Regions from separate parts of the Homo sapiens genome. Here region 1 is linked to region 2. The links are contacts of gene promoters, found by promoter capture Hi-C in blood cells and fetal thymus (Javierre and others, 2016). All regions are on one chromosome and are shown on one strand. Each heading gives the region's core, a stretch centred on a gene start or on the middle of the fragment in contact. The rest is flanking DNA. Distances are from core to core; before and after follow the strand shown. Region 1 has its middle 17 kb from the start of HCCS. Region 2 holds the start of CLCN4 (chloride voltage-gated channel 4).

The links. The method cuts DNA at HindIII sites, captures the fragments that hold promoters and counts their contacts. A CHiCAGO score of 5 or more calls a contact.
Region 1: a fragment that was not itself captured here is called in contact with the fragment with the promoter of CLCN4 in region 2 in 2 of 17 cell types (naive CD8 T cells and non-activated CD4 T cells); the score reaches 6.2 in naive CD8 T cells.

Annotation. Positions count from the first base shown.
Region 1 is chrX:11,125,214-11,132,188 of GRCh38, forward strand. No RefSeq gene overlaps it. Among named protein-coding and RNA genes, the nearest start is that of HCCS, 17 kb to the left of the region's middle. The HindIII fragment of the contact is 4,762 bases long and covers 1-4,436 here.
Region 2 is chrX:10,151,964-10,158,541 of GRCh38, forward strand. CLCN4 (chloride voltage-gated channel 4) reads left to right here and starts at 5,012. Exons shown (of 13, transcript NM_001830.4): 1 at 5,012-5,137; 2 at 6,326-6,578. The HindIII fragment of the contact is 3,563 bases long and covers 4,036-6,578 here.

The DNA of each region.
Region 1 (6,975 bases), core at 806-3,305, 970 kb after region 2:
ATTGTATGACCCGTCATTTGTGTCACCATAGGCTTGAGGCTGTGTGTGTGATGATTACAAATGTGTGTCCTGGAGGCAGAGTCCTTGCCCTGCCCTTTAGTCGCTGTGTGATCTTAATGTCTCTGGGCCTCAGCTTTCTCGGCTATGAAATGAGAGTAATAGAACCAACTTATCAGAGTTGTTTTGCAGGTACTTTGAGGTGATGCCTAAAAGCGCTGGGAACAGAGTCTGTGGGTGGAAATGTTCAGCAAATATTAGCTATCACCATTGATCAACAACAGCAAGGAGAGAAATCAAAGTGCTGAGATATAATCTACTTCTCTCATCCTCTGGCCTTATTCCCCGCCCCACTCCGCCACCAGGAGAATCAGTTTAGAGGGGTAACAGCAGGCTCTAATCCCCATTTTGATCAATTTTAAGGATTACCAGGTGTTTGGGTGCTTGCTCTAAGAAAGCTCATGTTATTTAAAATCATCAAATGGAAAAAGAACAGGTTACAGCCTTTGATCTTTCAAAAAATATCAGGGTAACAAATTAGGTACTTGATATGCAAGTCCCACTTGACAAAAAGAAATATTATATTAAGACAGATACCCAAGCTGGAGTGCACTGGCATGATCTCGGCTCAATGCAACCTCTACCTCCTGGGTTCAAGTGATTCTTGTGCCTCAGCCTCCTGAGAAGCTGGGATTACAGGTGCCTACCACCACACTCAGCGAATTTTTTTGTATTTTTAGTAGAGATGGGGTTTCACCATGTTGGTCAGGCTGGTCTTGAACTTCTGACCTCAAGTGATCCACCCACCTCGGCCTCCCAAAGTGCTGCGATTCTTGTGCTTCTTAATCTAAAATATAGCTCACTGTAATGTCCTTTGGGTCACAAGGTTATCCCCCTCTGTGAAAATATATTACATATCCGGATTCAAAACATATTACAAGGTTGTTTACTGCAAAGAAAAAGATCAAAAATTATTTCAAAAGCCATGTATATTCCTTGTAACTTAAGGTAACATTTAAAAAATTATATAATTTGGGGGGTATATAGTATATCAAAATGAAGCATATGAATTATGCCTTGCGCCACTCATGACAAATAATATCACGTTTTCATTTATAAGTGGGAGCTAAATGATAAGAACACAGAGGGGAACAGCACACACTGGGGCCTATTGGAGGGTGGAGGGTGGGAGGAGGGAGTGGCTTAGGAAAAACAGCTAATGGGTACTAGGCTTCATACCTGGGTGACAAAATAATCTGTACAACAAACCCCCATGACACAAGTTTACCTATGTAACAAGTGTGCACATGTGCCTCTGAACTTTAAAAAGAAAAACATTTACTGCTGCAGTAGAGATTGTCACTGTACCTTCAGTAAAATTTCATGCCATTGGTGTAAGTGGTAAAGTGTCTATTTCATGCTTGTGCACTCTCTAGTTTGGAAGAAAAAGCTGACAACACTTTCTGCAAATGATTCAACCGGAGGTTTATACATCACATTGCAAGTATTCTAATGTTTTTGTGGAATCATACCAGATGCAGGAGCAAACATAGTTCCTAAGACTGGTTTAGGGAATGAGGCATGTACATATGGGTGCTATCTTGTATTTATAATTAGCTTTTCATTGATGCTTTTACACACCAAAGGTCATATGTGATAGGGGCACAGAAATAATACATCTTGAGTGTTGTAACAGAGGAATTGTGAGACAAGTCTTCACAATCATAGACGAGTGAAGTCCTAAAGAACAATGAAAAGTTACTATTTTGAAAGTTACTATTTTGGAGCTCTGTGCAGAATCATCATTTAAACACTTTGCTATTCCTTCTACATTTGGGATAACAATGTGACTAATTCCCGTGCCCCTTCAATGGTTTGCTATAGAATATTATCAGGATGCTTTTGGCTTCTAGTAAGTGAATCCCTGCTTGAACTCACAGCCAGAAGTGCAGAGGTTGGGTGTACACTTGGTTGATCCTGCTTCTCTGGACTCCCTTTCCTTCCATGTTCAATTTTAACTTCATCCATGTAGGGCTGGTTCCTTTCATCAGCGTCAATGCTTCCTAGTTGCTTTGAGATCCTTGTTTATGGTCAGTAGATATGAGGTGGGGTGGGACCCGGCCATCTACCACAACCATGGGAAATAAGGTTTCTCTTCAGTCTAATTGGGCCAATTCAGCACTGGGCCTGTGTCCTACCACCCCTCCCATTTTATGTTCCTGTGCGTGCTTCATGCTTAGATTAGCTCAGACAAATCATCAGGAGGACATGTAGTGACCACAAGAGGATTCCTTCACTGCTGATTTAAAATCCCATTCTTAGACATCATTTCATTAAGGTCTTTTTCCTTCATCTGAACCTTTTTAAAAATTTTTTTCTGAGACAGAGCCTCACTGTAGTGCCCAGTCTGGAGTGCAGTGGTGCGATCTTGACTCACTGCAGCCTCTACCTCCCAGGTTCAAGTGATCTTCCCATCTCAGCCTACTTAGTAGCTGGGACCACAGGCACATGCCACCACGCCCAGCTAATTTTTGTATTTTTTGTAGAGACAGCATTTCACCATGTTGCCCAGGCTGGTCTTGAACTCCTGAACTCAAGTGATCTGCCTGCCTCAGCTTCCCAAAGTGCTGAGATTATAGGCTTAGGCCACCAAGCCCAGCCTGAGCCCTTTTCTTATGCCAGGGTTTTAAATCTGGAGGTGGTAGCTAACGTAATGGCATAAAACAAGATTTGAGAGCTTTGTTTCTGCACTGATTCCCTGTGTTAAGCTGGGAGATTTGGGACAAGCCACCTTAGGCCTGTAAGTCTCAATTTCCTGAAATTATCTTAAAGGCTCCTTTCATACCAAAATGTTTGTGGCCTCATATTACAATGGGCTGAATTATGTCATCTTTCAGGTTGAGAATCTTTAAGTTAAGGGAAAACAATGTGGTTTGAAACCCTATTTCAAACTAGTTTTTATATAAACTACATCAGTAGACACACTCTTAAAAGACCTACACTTAAGCGAATTCCAAGTTAACCAGTGCTTTCCTTTCCCTCTATAAAATGTGCTGGCTTGGAAACAATTCAAACATTCACCAATTAGTAAATGGATAAATACATGTTGGTATATCCATGCAATGGAATATTATTCACCCATAAAAATAAATGAAGTACTGATAAATGCTACAATATGGATGAACCCTAAAAACATTGTGCTCAAAGAGGCCAGAAACAAAAGGCCACTTTCGTATGATTCCATTTATTTGAAACCCTCAGAATAGGCAAATTTATAGGGGCAGAAAGCAGATTCGTGGTTGTCAGGGCTGGTGGAGGAGGAATGGGGAGTGACTGCTAATGGACGTGGGAGTTTCTTTTGGGGGTGATTAAAAAATGCTCTAAAATTGATGGTTGCACAACTCTGTGACTATACTAGAAACCATTGAACTGTATACTTTAAATGAGTGAATTGTGTGGTTTGTAATTATAGCTGTTTTTAAAAATGAAAAAGAAATAGCCGGGCGCGGTGGCTCATGCCTGTAATCCCAGCACTTTGGGAGGCTGAGACGGGCGGATCACGAGGTCAGGAGATCGAGACCATCCTGGCTAACACGGTGAAACCCCGTCTCTACTAAAAATACAAAAATTAGCCAGGCATGTTGGCGTGCGCCTGTAGTCCCAGCTACACGGGAGGCTGAGGCAGGAGAATGGTGTGAACCCGGGAGGCGGAGCTTGCAGTGAGTCGAGATCGCGCCACTGCACTCCAGCCTGGGCGACAGAGCGAAACTCCGTCTCAAAAAAAAAAAAAAAAAAAAAAAGAAATAAAAACGTGCTGGTTGATCCCTACAGCCAGGAGGTCCCCATCCTCCTAGTTGAGCAGCCGGCTTAGCATGAGCCAGTAACGTAATTATTTTAATTAACCAAAACAACAGACAATGCAATGTAAATGCATAAGCCAAGTATATAAAGACTAATGAATGATAAGGAAGGCTTTGAAGGAGAATCCCAAAAAATGTTGCCATGAAACTGGAAGGGGTTTAGAAAATATCATAAAAATCAGAATAATTTTTCACTCACTGCTTTGTAGTCGTTTCTTAAATTTGCTGTTAAAAAAAAAAAAAGCCCTGGAACTGGAAGAATAGATGATGCACAGTGGATGTGGTTCATCCACTGTGCATTAGTAAGAAGGATGAAGTGGCACTGCTGACCCACCGCACCCAGAGATGCAAAAGGCCTTGGCTCCTTGTTGAAAGATTAGTAAATGATGTACATTTATGCTTTCAGGTAAAATGTAACATGTGATCATTTTATGATTTCTAGTTTCAGCTGGATTTTTTTAAAAGTATGATTTGACATTGTTCAGGCCAAGCATTGCCTTAGAACAGCATTTTGGATCTTGCTGCCTTTCCCCTTCCACCTCTCTCCCTTTTGTGGTTTCCCCAGCAAGATGCTTTTCAAGCTTTTGTGTACTATGTATCAGAATCCCCTAGAGGGCTTGTTAAAACGCAGATGGCTGGGCCCCCACCCAGAATTCCTGATCCTGTATGCCTGGGGCGGCTGAGAATTCTTGTTTCTAACGAGCTCCCAGGAGATGCTGATGCTGCTGGGCCAGGGGGCCCAATTTGAGCTTCACTTTCCTCTGGCATCTTTTGAATCCTTTGAGCTTCCATCCACCCCCATCTTTGTGATGCATTTACAGTTGCCTCATAGTCACATAGCCGTGGGTCGAAGTTCCCATGCAGAAGATGCAAAAGCAAATCTTAAATGTAAATGCCACTTCCCCAATTTTGCTTATTTTCCATTTCTTCTTTAAGTCCTCCTGCTCCCCTCACTTCTGAATGTTGCCTGATTACACCTTTGTTTTGCTTTAATAATGAAAAGCTTTCCTCTGAAAGTTCATTTCTTCATATGACTTCTGTAGGTGATGATAGTGGGGGCAGGAAGATAATGGGGTGAAGACAACAGCCTCCCAGACTGGGTAACAGAAGGTCCCTCTTAGTGTACGCTGCTTCTATGAGAATTGTTGTCTCAAAAGGAAAACGCTTTCTTGGTAGCACTCACTGGAGAAGGAAAGGTGCTCTGGGTGATTCCTGCTACTTGACCTTTGCTCAACACATTAGTTTGCTGTGGCTGCCATAACAAAGGGCCATAAATGTAGTGGCATAAGCAACAGAAATTTATTCTCTCACAGTTCTTGAGGACAGAAGTCCAAGATCAAGGTGTCAGCAGGGACATGCTCCCTCTGAAGGCTCTAGGGAAGGATCTGTTCCAGGCCTTTCTCCCAGCTTCTGGGATTTCTTTCACATCGGGCAGCATAACTCCAGTCTTCATATGGTGTTTTCTGCATGCACGTGTGTGTGTGTGTGTGTCTGTGTCTGTGTGTGTCTGTGTCTGTGCCCCAACATCCCCTTGATTTTTAGGACACCAGCCATATTGGATTAGGGCCCACCCTAATGACCTCATCTTAACTTGATCATCTGCAAAGACTCAATTTCCAAATAAGATCACATTCACAAGTACTGGGGGCTAGGACTTCCACATTTTTGAGGGGAACACAATTCAACACTTAACACTCACATTTTCAGAATGACTGTGAAGAAATTCATCCAGGGTCAGGCCAGCTCATTTATCTGGTACCTGTCACTGCTGAATTGCTCCACTTGTGCTCACTTGCACACTTTGCTGGGCCATGACATTGCAAACCAGTGTGGTTTGGCCCCTGTATTGGCAAAAGGGTGAACCCAGAAGGCTTCACCCTTTTGCGAAGCTCAATGTGCTCCTGGCCCTTCCACAGACTGCATGAGCAGCTCATGCATGCCTCTGATGGAAGTCTCTTGGTGAGAGAAGAGGGGGAGGGCAAGATAATTGTCTGATCCCCTGCAAAGCATCAGGAATGAAAAAGAGCCAAGTGGCTCATCTGTCCCAATGTTCCTTTCATGATTGACTTTCCCCAGCAGATCCTGGGCCCAGACCCTTGGTGTCTGACCAAGTAAAGGGATATGACTAGAAGAAGACACTGAACACTGACCCTCTATGTTTCTTTCCTGCAGAAAAAAGCCTGTTTCTAATCCCTTCTCTAATTCATTTACCTTCTAAGGAAATGAAGTCATCTCCTTTGTGCAGAAACAAGAAACAGCTTTGGCCTTCCCCTACTGGACATTTGAGGGTTCTGTTCTCCTTTTCATTCATTGCCCAACATTACATTTGATCTTGGAACTAAGCAAATGGCTTAGTCTGTTGGGGCTGCTATAACAAAACACCATAAACTGGGAGGCTCATAAGCAACAGAAATGTGTTTCTCACATTTCTGGAGCCTGGAAGTCCAAGGTCAAAGCACTGACAGATTTGGTGCCTGGTGAGGGCTTCCCGCTTCATAGACGGTGCCTTCTCACTGAGTCCTCACATGGCAGAAGGGGCGAAGGAGCTGGAGCCTCTTTTGAAGAGCATTAATCCCATTCATGAGGGCTCTACTCTCATGACCTCATCACCTCCCAGAGTTCCCACGTCCTAATACCATCACCTTCCGGGTTAAGTTTCAATATATGGATTTTGAGGGGACACCAACATTCAGACTCTAGCAGTAAGAGAAGCACACACTAAAAGATAATGCCAGAGAAACAGTGACTCAGACATAAGAATACAAAAAAATATGATGGCAGAAATAGAAACACAGGAAGAAAAGTATGGAAGGAAATAAGTGGAACAGGTTTTGCATATCATAAACATTGCTCATACTCCCTGGGATGGAGCAAGGTACAGTTTTACCTTATTTTACATTTTGGAATTATGTTCCGATGGAAAAGAGCTCTGTGGAGGAGTTAGGAACTTCGTAAAATGGCCTCAGGCAAAAGGCCCTTTAACCTCCTTGGGCCTCAGGTGGCTCACCTGTACTATGAGGGGCTTCCTGTTCTGAAACTGGGTCCTTCTCTTTATCTAGCAAAGAACGTGACCAGATCTGCCTACATCATTTGCAAGTTCCAGTGGAAAATGAAAATG
Region 2 (6,578 bases), core at 3,762-6,261:
CTCCCCATTCAGTAGTTCGAAGCAAGGCATGGCAGGAGAATTTACACCAGGAGAATCAGCACAAGCTACAAATCAAGCCTCCCTCCCCATGCCCCACCCTTGGAGAGCTGGGTTATTTAACGATGACTGACATGCCACTGTGCATATGCCTACTGGAGGAGACAGGCCTACTGAATTGCCTTGGCAACATCTGAGTCTCCTGGCACTCACAGAGAAAAAGGAGACAGTGGCAGCTCCACAGTTCTTATTGTCAGAGAGGAAAAGCACCATATGGTTTTTTTAAGGGATGGCAACACTTCTCTTAGGCCTTAGAGCTACACGGGCTCTTTTCTCAGGCTTCCCAGCACAGACAATGTCCTTGACAACAACTCCACTCCACTGCAAAAGCAGAGGGATTTCAAAGCTGTTGTTTGTCACGTCAGTCAAGGCTGTCACTTTGGATCGATGTCAGGGCAATGGGGTCTGAGTTTGCAGCTTTTGGATGTCTGCTGAGATCTGTGAACACAGCCCAGAATGCCTAGAAAAGGCTGGATTGCATATTCTTATATCCCATGTCACTTACTTATTCCCCAAATCTTTTAGGATGCTGGCCATGTGCATAGCCCCCAGCTAGGTATGGAAGCAACTCATTCATTCATTCATTCATTCATTGGAGATGGTGTATTCAGGTGTAAAGGAGTTCAGGATACAAAGATAGATGAAATAGGGTCTTCACCTCCAGGTTTTATAAGATCCCCCATTTATAGAATAATTTACCAGATACTCAGGGCTGGAATTTGGAGGAGGTGAGGGAGGCACTTACCTTGGGTGCAAAACGTAAGAGGGCACCACAAAAATCAGTAATCAAGATAATATACTGGCCAGGCACGGTGACTCACGCCTGTAATCCCACCACTTTGGGAGGCTGAGGTGGGTGGATCACCTGAGGTCGGGAGTTTGAGACCAGCCTGGCCAACATGGCAAAACCCCGTCTCTACTAAAAATACAAAAATTAGCCAGGTGTGGTGGTAGGCACCTGTAATCCCAGCTACTCAGGAGGCTGAGGCAGGAGAATTGTTTGAACCTGGGAGATGGAGGTTGCAGTGAGGCAAGATCATGCCACTGCACTCCAGCCTGGGCGACGAGAGCAAAACCCCATCTCAAAAAAAAAAAAAAAAATATATATATATGTATATACACACACACATATATATGTATATATATACACACACACATATATATGTACATATATATGTACATATATAATTTATAAAATCAAAATTAGTGCAGAAAATTACAATGTACAAGATATGAACATTTTAAATAAGGACAGGCTGTTGTGGTTTGTTTCACTCCCCTTCAGTGTTGGGCAAGGGAGCATAGTCAATTCCAATCAGCGAGGGGTTACTTGGCCAGGAGGTATCTGAAGGGGAGGTTTATGTGGGTGCAAATAAATTGGGCCACGGGGAGCATTATACATAGTTTCTGTGCGTGTGTGTTTCGGTTGTAGGGTCTTTACTGACTTTTTTCACTTGGTTCAAAATACAAGAGGGTATCTTGATCACTGTATTTAGGGGTACACAACTTTTCTTGTGTCTCAAATTCTAATAATAAGGCACTGCTTGTGCTCTTTCCAGATCTCTCACTTACGTCTCACTCAGCTACAAGTGGTGGATACTATTACTCTTCCTCCTTCTCCTTGTTTTACAGAAGGGAAAAGTGGGGCTTGCAGAAGCTTGGCAAAATAGCACAGGCAGTAATACTGCAATACAGCCATGTAATACTTCAAGATGGTGTATGATTAAAGCGGTTGGCTGAGAACATTTGGGAAAATTTTAGTTCTGGTGTAACAAACTGTATCCCAGAGACAGTGCTATATGCTGGGCTTTCAAAGAGCAGGTAAATGCAGCTCCCCTCTGTCCTTCCAGGAGCTCAGGAGCTCAGGAGCTCAGGGGTTAATGCGAGTAAATAATTTGGGTCTAAGCTGGTGAGTGCTGTCCAGAGGGTCCCAGGAAGCTGTGGCTCCAAGAAGGGTGGAGGGGATGGTCAGAGGCGCCTGGGGAAGAAGCTGGGGTCCTGGCCAGAGAAGACCTAGCCTGACCCCAGGGTGCTCCAGCCTCCATCAGAACAGGAGGCTGATGTCAGGGCTGTCTCTGAGCCTGTCTGCAAAATGGGTGCACAGCAGATCTGCCCTACTCCTGTTAACCAGCTGCTGCGAGAATCAGATGACATGCTGCAGAGGAAGGCACTCTCTACAGGGTGCATGTGCTGAGGCGGGCGGATCAGTTGAGATCAGGAGTTCGAGACCATCCTGGGCAACATAGTGAAACCCCATCTCTACTAAAAATACAAAAATTAGCCAGGTGTGGTGGTGGGCGCCTGTAATCCCACCTACTCAGGAGACTGAGGCACAAGAAACGCTTGAACCCGGGAGGCGGAGGTTGTAGTGAGTTGAGATTGCACCACTGTAGCCTGGGCGACAAAGCAAGACTGTCTAAAAAAAAAAATATATATATATATATATATATAAAATATATATGTATAATATATAATATATATACAAACACACACACATATATATGGGGGCTTGGACACAAAGAGGCAATAGGGTCCTCACCTCTAGGTTTTGTAAAACCCACCATTTATAGAATAATTGAATAGTGAGTTTTAACAATTTAGTGGTGGGAAAATGTCTGTTTTAAAAATATACAGTGCATCCAAATCTATGAAAATTTCCCATCCACCTCTGTGCCAAGCCACACAGTTTTCCTCCCTAGAGATAACACCCTTAGCAGTTCCCGATGTCTCTTTTCAGAGGTGGTTTGTGGTGCACACACAGGTGGGCAATGACACGTCCCACATGCTGGGAGTACTACCTTTAAGGGATTTATAATGAAGAGAGCTTCCAGCACATCATACAATGGGGAACTCTTGAAAATGGCTGGGAAATGGAACATCTTGGGCATCAAATTATACTCCATCAGTAATTCAAACCAGGGTTTCTCGACTTCAGCACTATTGTACTGATATTTTGGGCCGAAATGTTCATTGTCCCGGGAGGTAGGAGTGGAGAGGGAGCTGTCCTGTGCACTGTAGGATGTTCAGCAGCAGCCCTGGCCTCTACCCACTCAATGCCAGGAGCACACGGCTCCTCCCACTTCAGTTGTGGCTGCCAAAAATGTCCCCTGGGGGAAAGGGAGCAACATCACCCCATTAAGAACCGCTGTTCTAAACCTTGTATGACATCTGTAGAAAACTGGCAGATAAGAGAAAAAATGTAGAAGATTCAAAGGGATAGGAAAGAGAAATCTGTGAAGACAATGGAAAGAGCCTGTAGTCCCAGTTACTTGGGAGGCTGAGGCAGGAGGATTGCTTGAGCCCAGGAATTTGAGGTTGCAGTGAGCCATGATCGTGCCACTGCACTCCAGCCTGGGAGACAGGGTGAGACCCTGTCTCGAATGAACAAAAAACTCAAAGGTTATTATTCCGTAACTATTGAAAGAATCTTTTCATGAAGGATGGTAATAACCAGCTTTCTATCTCCACACAGAGCAAAGTAAAAAGAAGTAGGTTTAAATGGAAGAGAAATTAAAACTGGACATACAGATGGTTAAATATTAACAACGGCCCCTGAATGGCACTTTCTTTCCTAAAGATCTTCATGAGCAGAATAATCTAGGATGGCTAGGGATTGTTCCCTCGGGACTTTGTGGTTAAGAATTCAGGATCTTCAAGTAATGAAATCTGCATTAAAAAATTAGCCAAAACTGTTTGTTTATTCCATAATCATGTCTATATGGTGCTTTTAAGAAAACAATTTTTTTGTTGCTATAAAAGCAATACATATTCACTGTGGAAAAATTAGACGATATCTCTAAGCTTAAAAGAAGAAAAATTTAAAACACCCTTAATCCCACTAACCAGTGAGATACCATGTTTGATACTTTAGTGAATTCATTTCCTAATAGTTTTCTGTGTTCGCAAAGGTATATGTGTAGATATAAATATATTACACCTACATAGAAACGACGGATCACTCAGCACATAATGCTTTGAAGCTTCCATTTTTTTTCCCATTTAATCCGCTGCACATGTCTTTTTCCATCCGTGTGTACCACCGTATTAGTTTTAATTCTTCCACTGCACAGATGGCTTATAATTTAAAACATCCCCTGTTTTTGGAGATTTAACTTGTTTCCAGTGCTTTGAGATCATAAGTAATATTGCAGCAAACTTTCCCTAGTCAGGGGTTTGCACACCGTTCTTCCCCCCACCCCCACTCCCCACACCCCAGGACAAATTCTTGGACATCAAGTTGCTGGAGCACATGATACCAACAGCTGTAGGGCCCGGAGTAATTGGCGAAACTGTGTATCTGTAAGGCATTTGGTAGGAAAAATGCTAAACAGACCACCAGAAAGATTGCTCAACTTACATTCCCATGGGTGGTATTGGTTTTTGCTTTTTTTGGTTTTGTTTTTTAATCTTGGCTAAAATGACAATTTGAAAGGCGAGGGTGGAGGGTGTTCAGACAGCTCTCTCATTCTGTTGAGAATTGCTTGGCCCAGTTCTGGGCCTTGTCTGAATTGCCGGTTTGCTGCAATGTTTTTTACAATTGAGCAATCACCTAGAAAAAAGAGAAGGTGAAACTAACCTACTGCAAAAAAACTGCTCCAGGATGAAGAAGGTTGCCTGTATTTCGTCATTTCAGCCAAGCCGGAATACGGAGCAAGGCTGTCTGCACCGTGCTACCATCCTCTTCAGGCTGCAGGGCATTTTGTATACCCACCACCTCCCATTGATGCTGGAAAATCCGGTCACAGAATTCCGTGCAGCCCAGCCCCTGAGGGTGGGGCGTCCTGTCTCCGGGACGCCGGGTTTTCTCTGGACACGAATGCTCCGGGGGTAGGAGGCGAATGACACTGGCACGGCGGGGCTCCGGAGCCAAGAGGTGACCAGGCTGGCTGGGCAGGGCTGAGTGGCTGGGCCGAGCACGTGATGCTCCCAGCCGGCCTCCGGGGCCCTCCGGGCTGAAATCGACATTTGCCTCTGGCAGGAAAATGAGCTTGTCAGTTTCTGCCTCCATTAGACCCTCAACCCAAAGGAGCAGGAGATTTCGGTAGCGTTTTAACTTTATCTCAGAATCTGAAAGCGGAAGGTAAGCTGCTTATCACTCAGAAAAACAAATTTGAGAGGAGTGACCTAGTAAAGTACACTGCGACTTTGTTGATTTTTAAAATCTGGTGTTGAAAATAATTGATCGCTGTGAGAGTCAAGGGCTGTATTTATCCCCAAATTAGAGATTAACCTTCTGAACAGAAATTTGGTTAATTTGGAGGGAATCACGGTATAAGGGCCAGGGTTAAATATAGAAGGACACGAAAGCTGATGGAATAAACTGCAAGTAAACTTAACTCTAGCCTGCTTGTAAAACAATCTATTTCATGTCTCCTTCAGGGCTGTGAGCAAAGGGAATGTTAAAATTGTGATTTTTAACTCAAGTGAAAGTAAATGAATCTATTTGCAATTGGAATACAAATAAAAGCAGTCTTTGCTTTTGTCCTTTTACATTTCAAAAACGCTTGTGTATTTTGGCAAAAGAAAAGTTTATATGTGCACTGCTTAAGTTTGAAATACGCTATTTCAAATTTACAAAATTATCACAGTTGTAATTTTCTAAAGTCTTTCTAGGCAAGGCTGTTTCAGTTGTGAATGAGAAATGTTGACATTGTACATATTTTCTGTGATAGTAAAATGACTCACTTCTTCAGAATGTGATAAAGATTAGAAAATGTGAAATAATGAGTTATTGTGAATTAAGTCATGTCTCAGAGATTAAATGCCTTGCCAGAAGATGTAAGAAAACAGAGACACAAATACAACCATGCTCACGTAGCAGTGCTTTATTTTAAATCATCACATATTTAAGTAAGTAGTAGAAATACGTGGTGTCACCATTTTTTCCTTTGGCAAATACAAATTAATATTGGAATGCAGCTATTCAGAGTAATTAAAGCATTATTCATCCGTGCAATTAGTATAATGTTCCATAATGAATTGCTTTGAACTAAAGTGTTTGGTATAATACTCGATATACGGCTTGAAACATAGAAACTCTAGGCAAAGTATGTCCATGCTATATTTTGTGTCATTTTGATTTGCACAAAATGTTTATTTCTCCACTGCATTTGATAAATACTAGTTTTAAAATAAAACATGAAATTGTATTTCCTTTCACTGTAATCCCTTTATTGCTAATTCTTTTGAAATCCTATTACTCGCTTGGAGCCTGTAATAATTTGGATTTCTCCTCCTGTGTGTTGTTTTTCATAATTCTTCGCGAAAGGCCAGGCAAGCTGCACACATCAAGCGAAACGCCTGAGGGGCGGCCAGCGCGAGGGTTTCTGGCCATCGACCCTCACCTCCCGGGACTTCCAGGGTCTTCCCCCCACCCCGCGCACACCTCCCTGCCTCGCCCCGAGGGCGTCACGTGGCAGCGTGGGGCCCGCCTCCTGGTGATGTCACGGCGCTCGCAGCCGTCGCGCTGAAGAAAGGATGCTCGAGGATGCTGTCCAGGTGGGCGGCCGCGGGCGCGATGC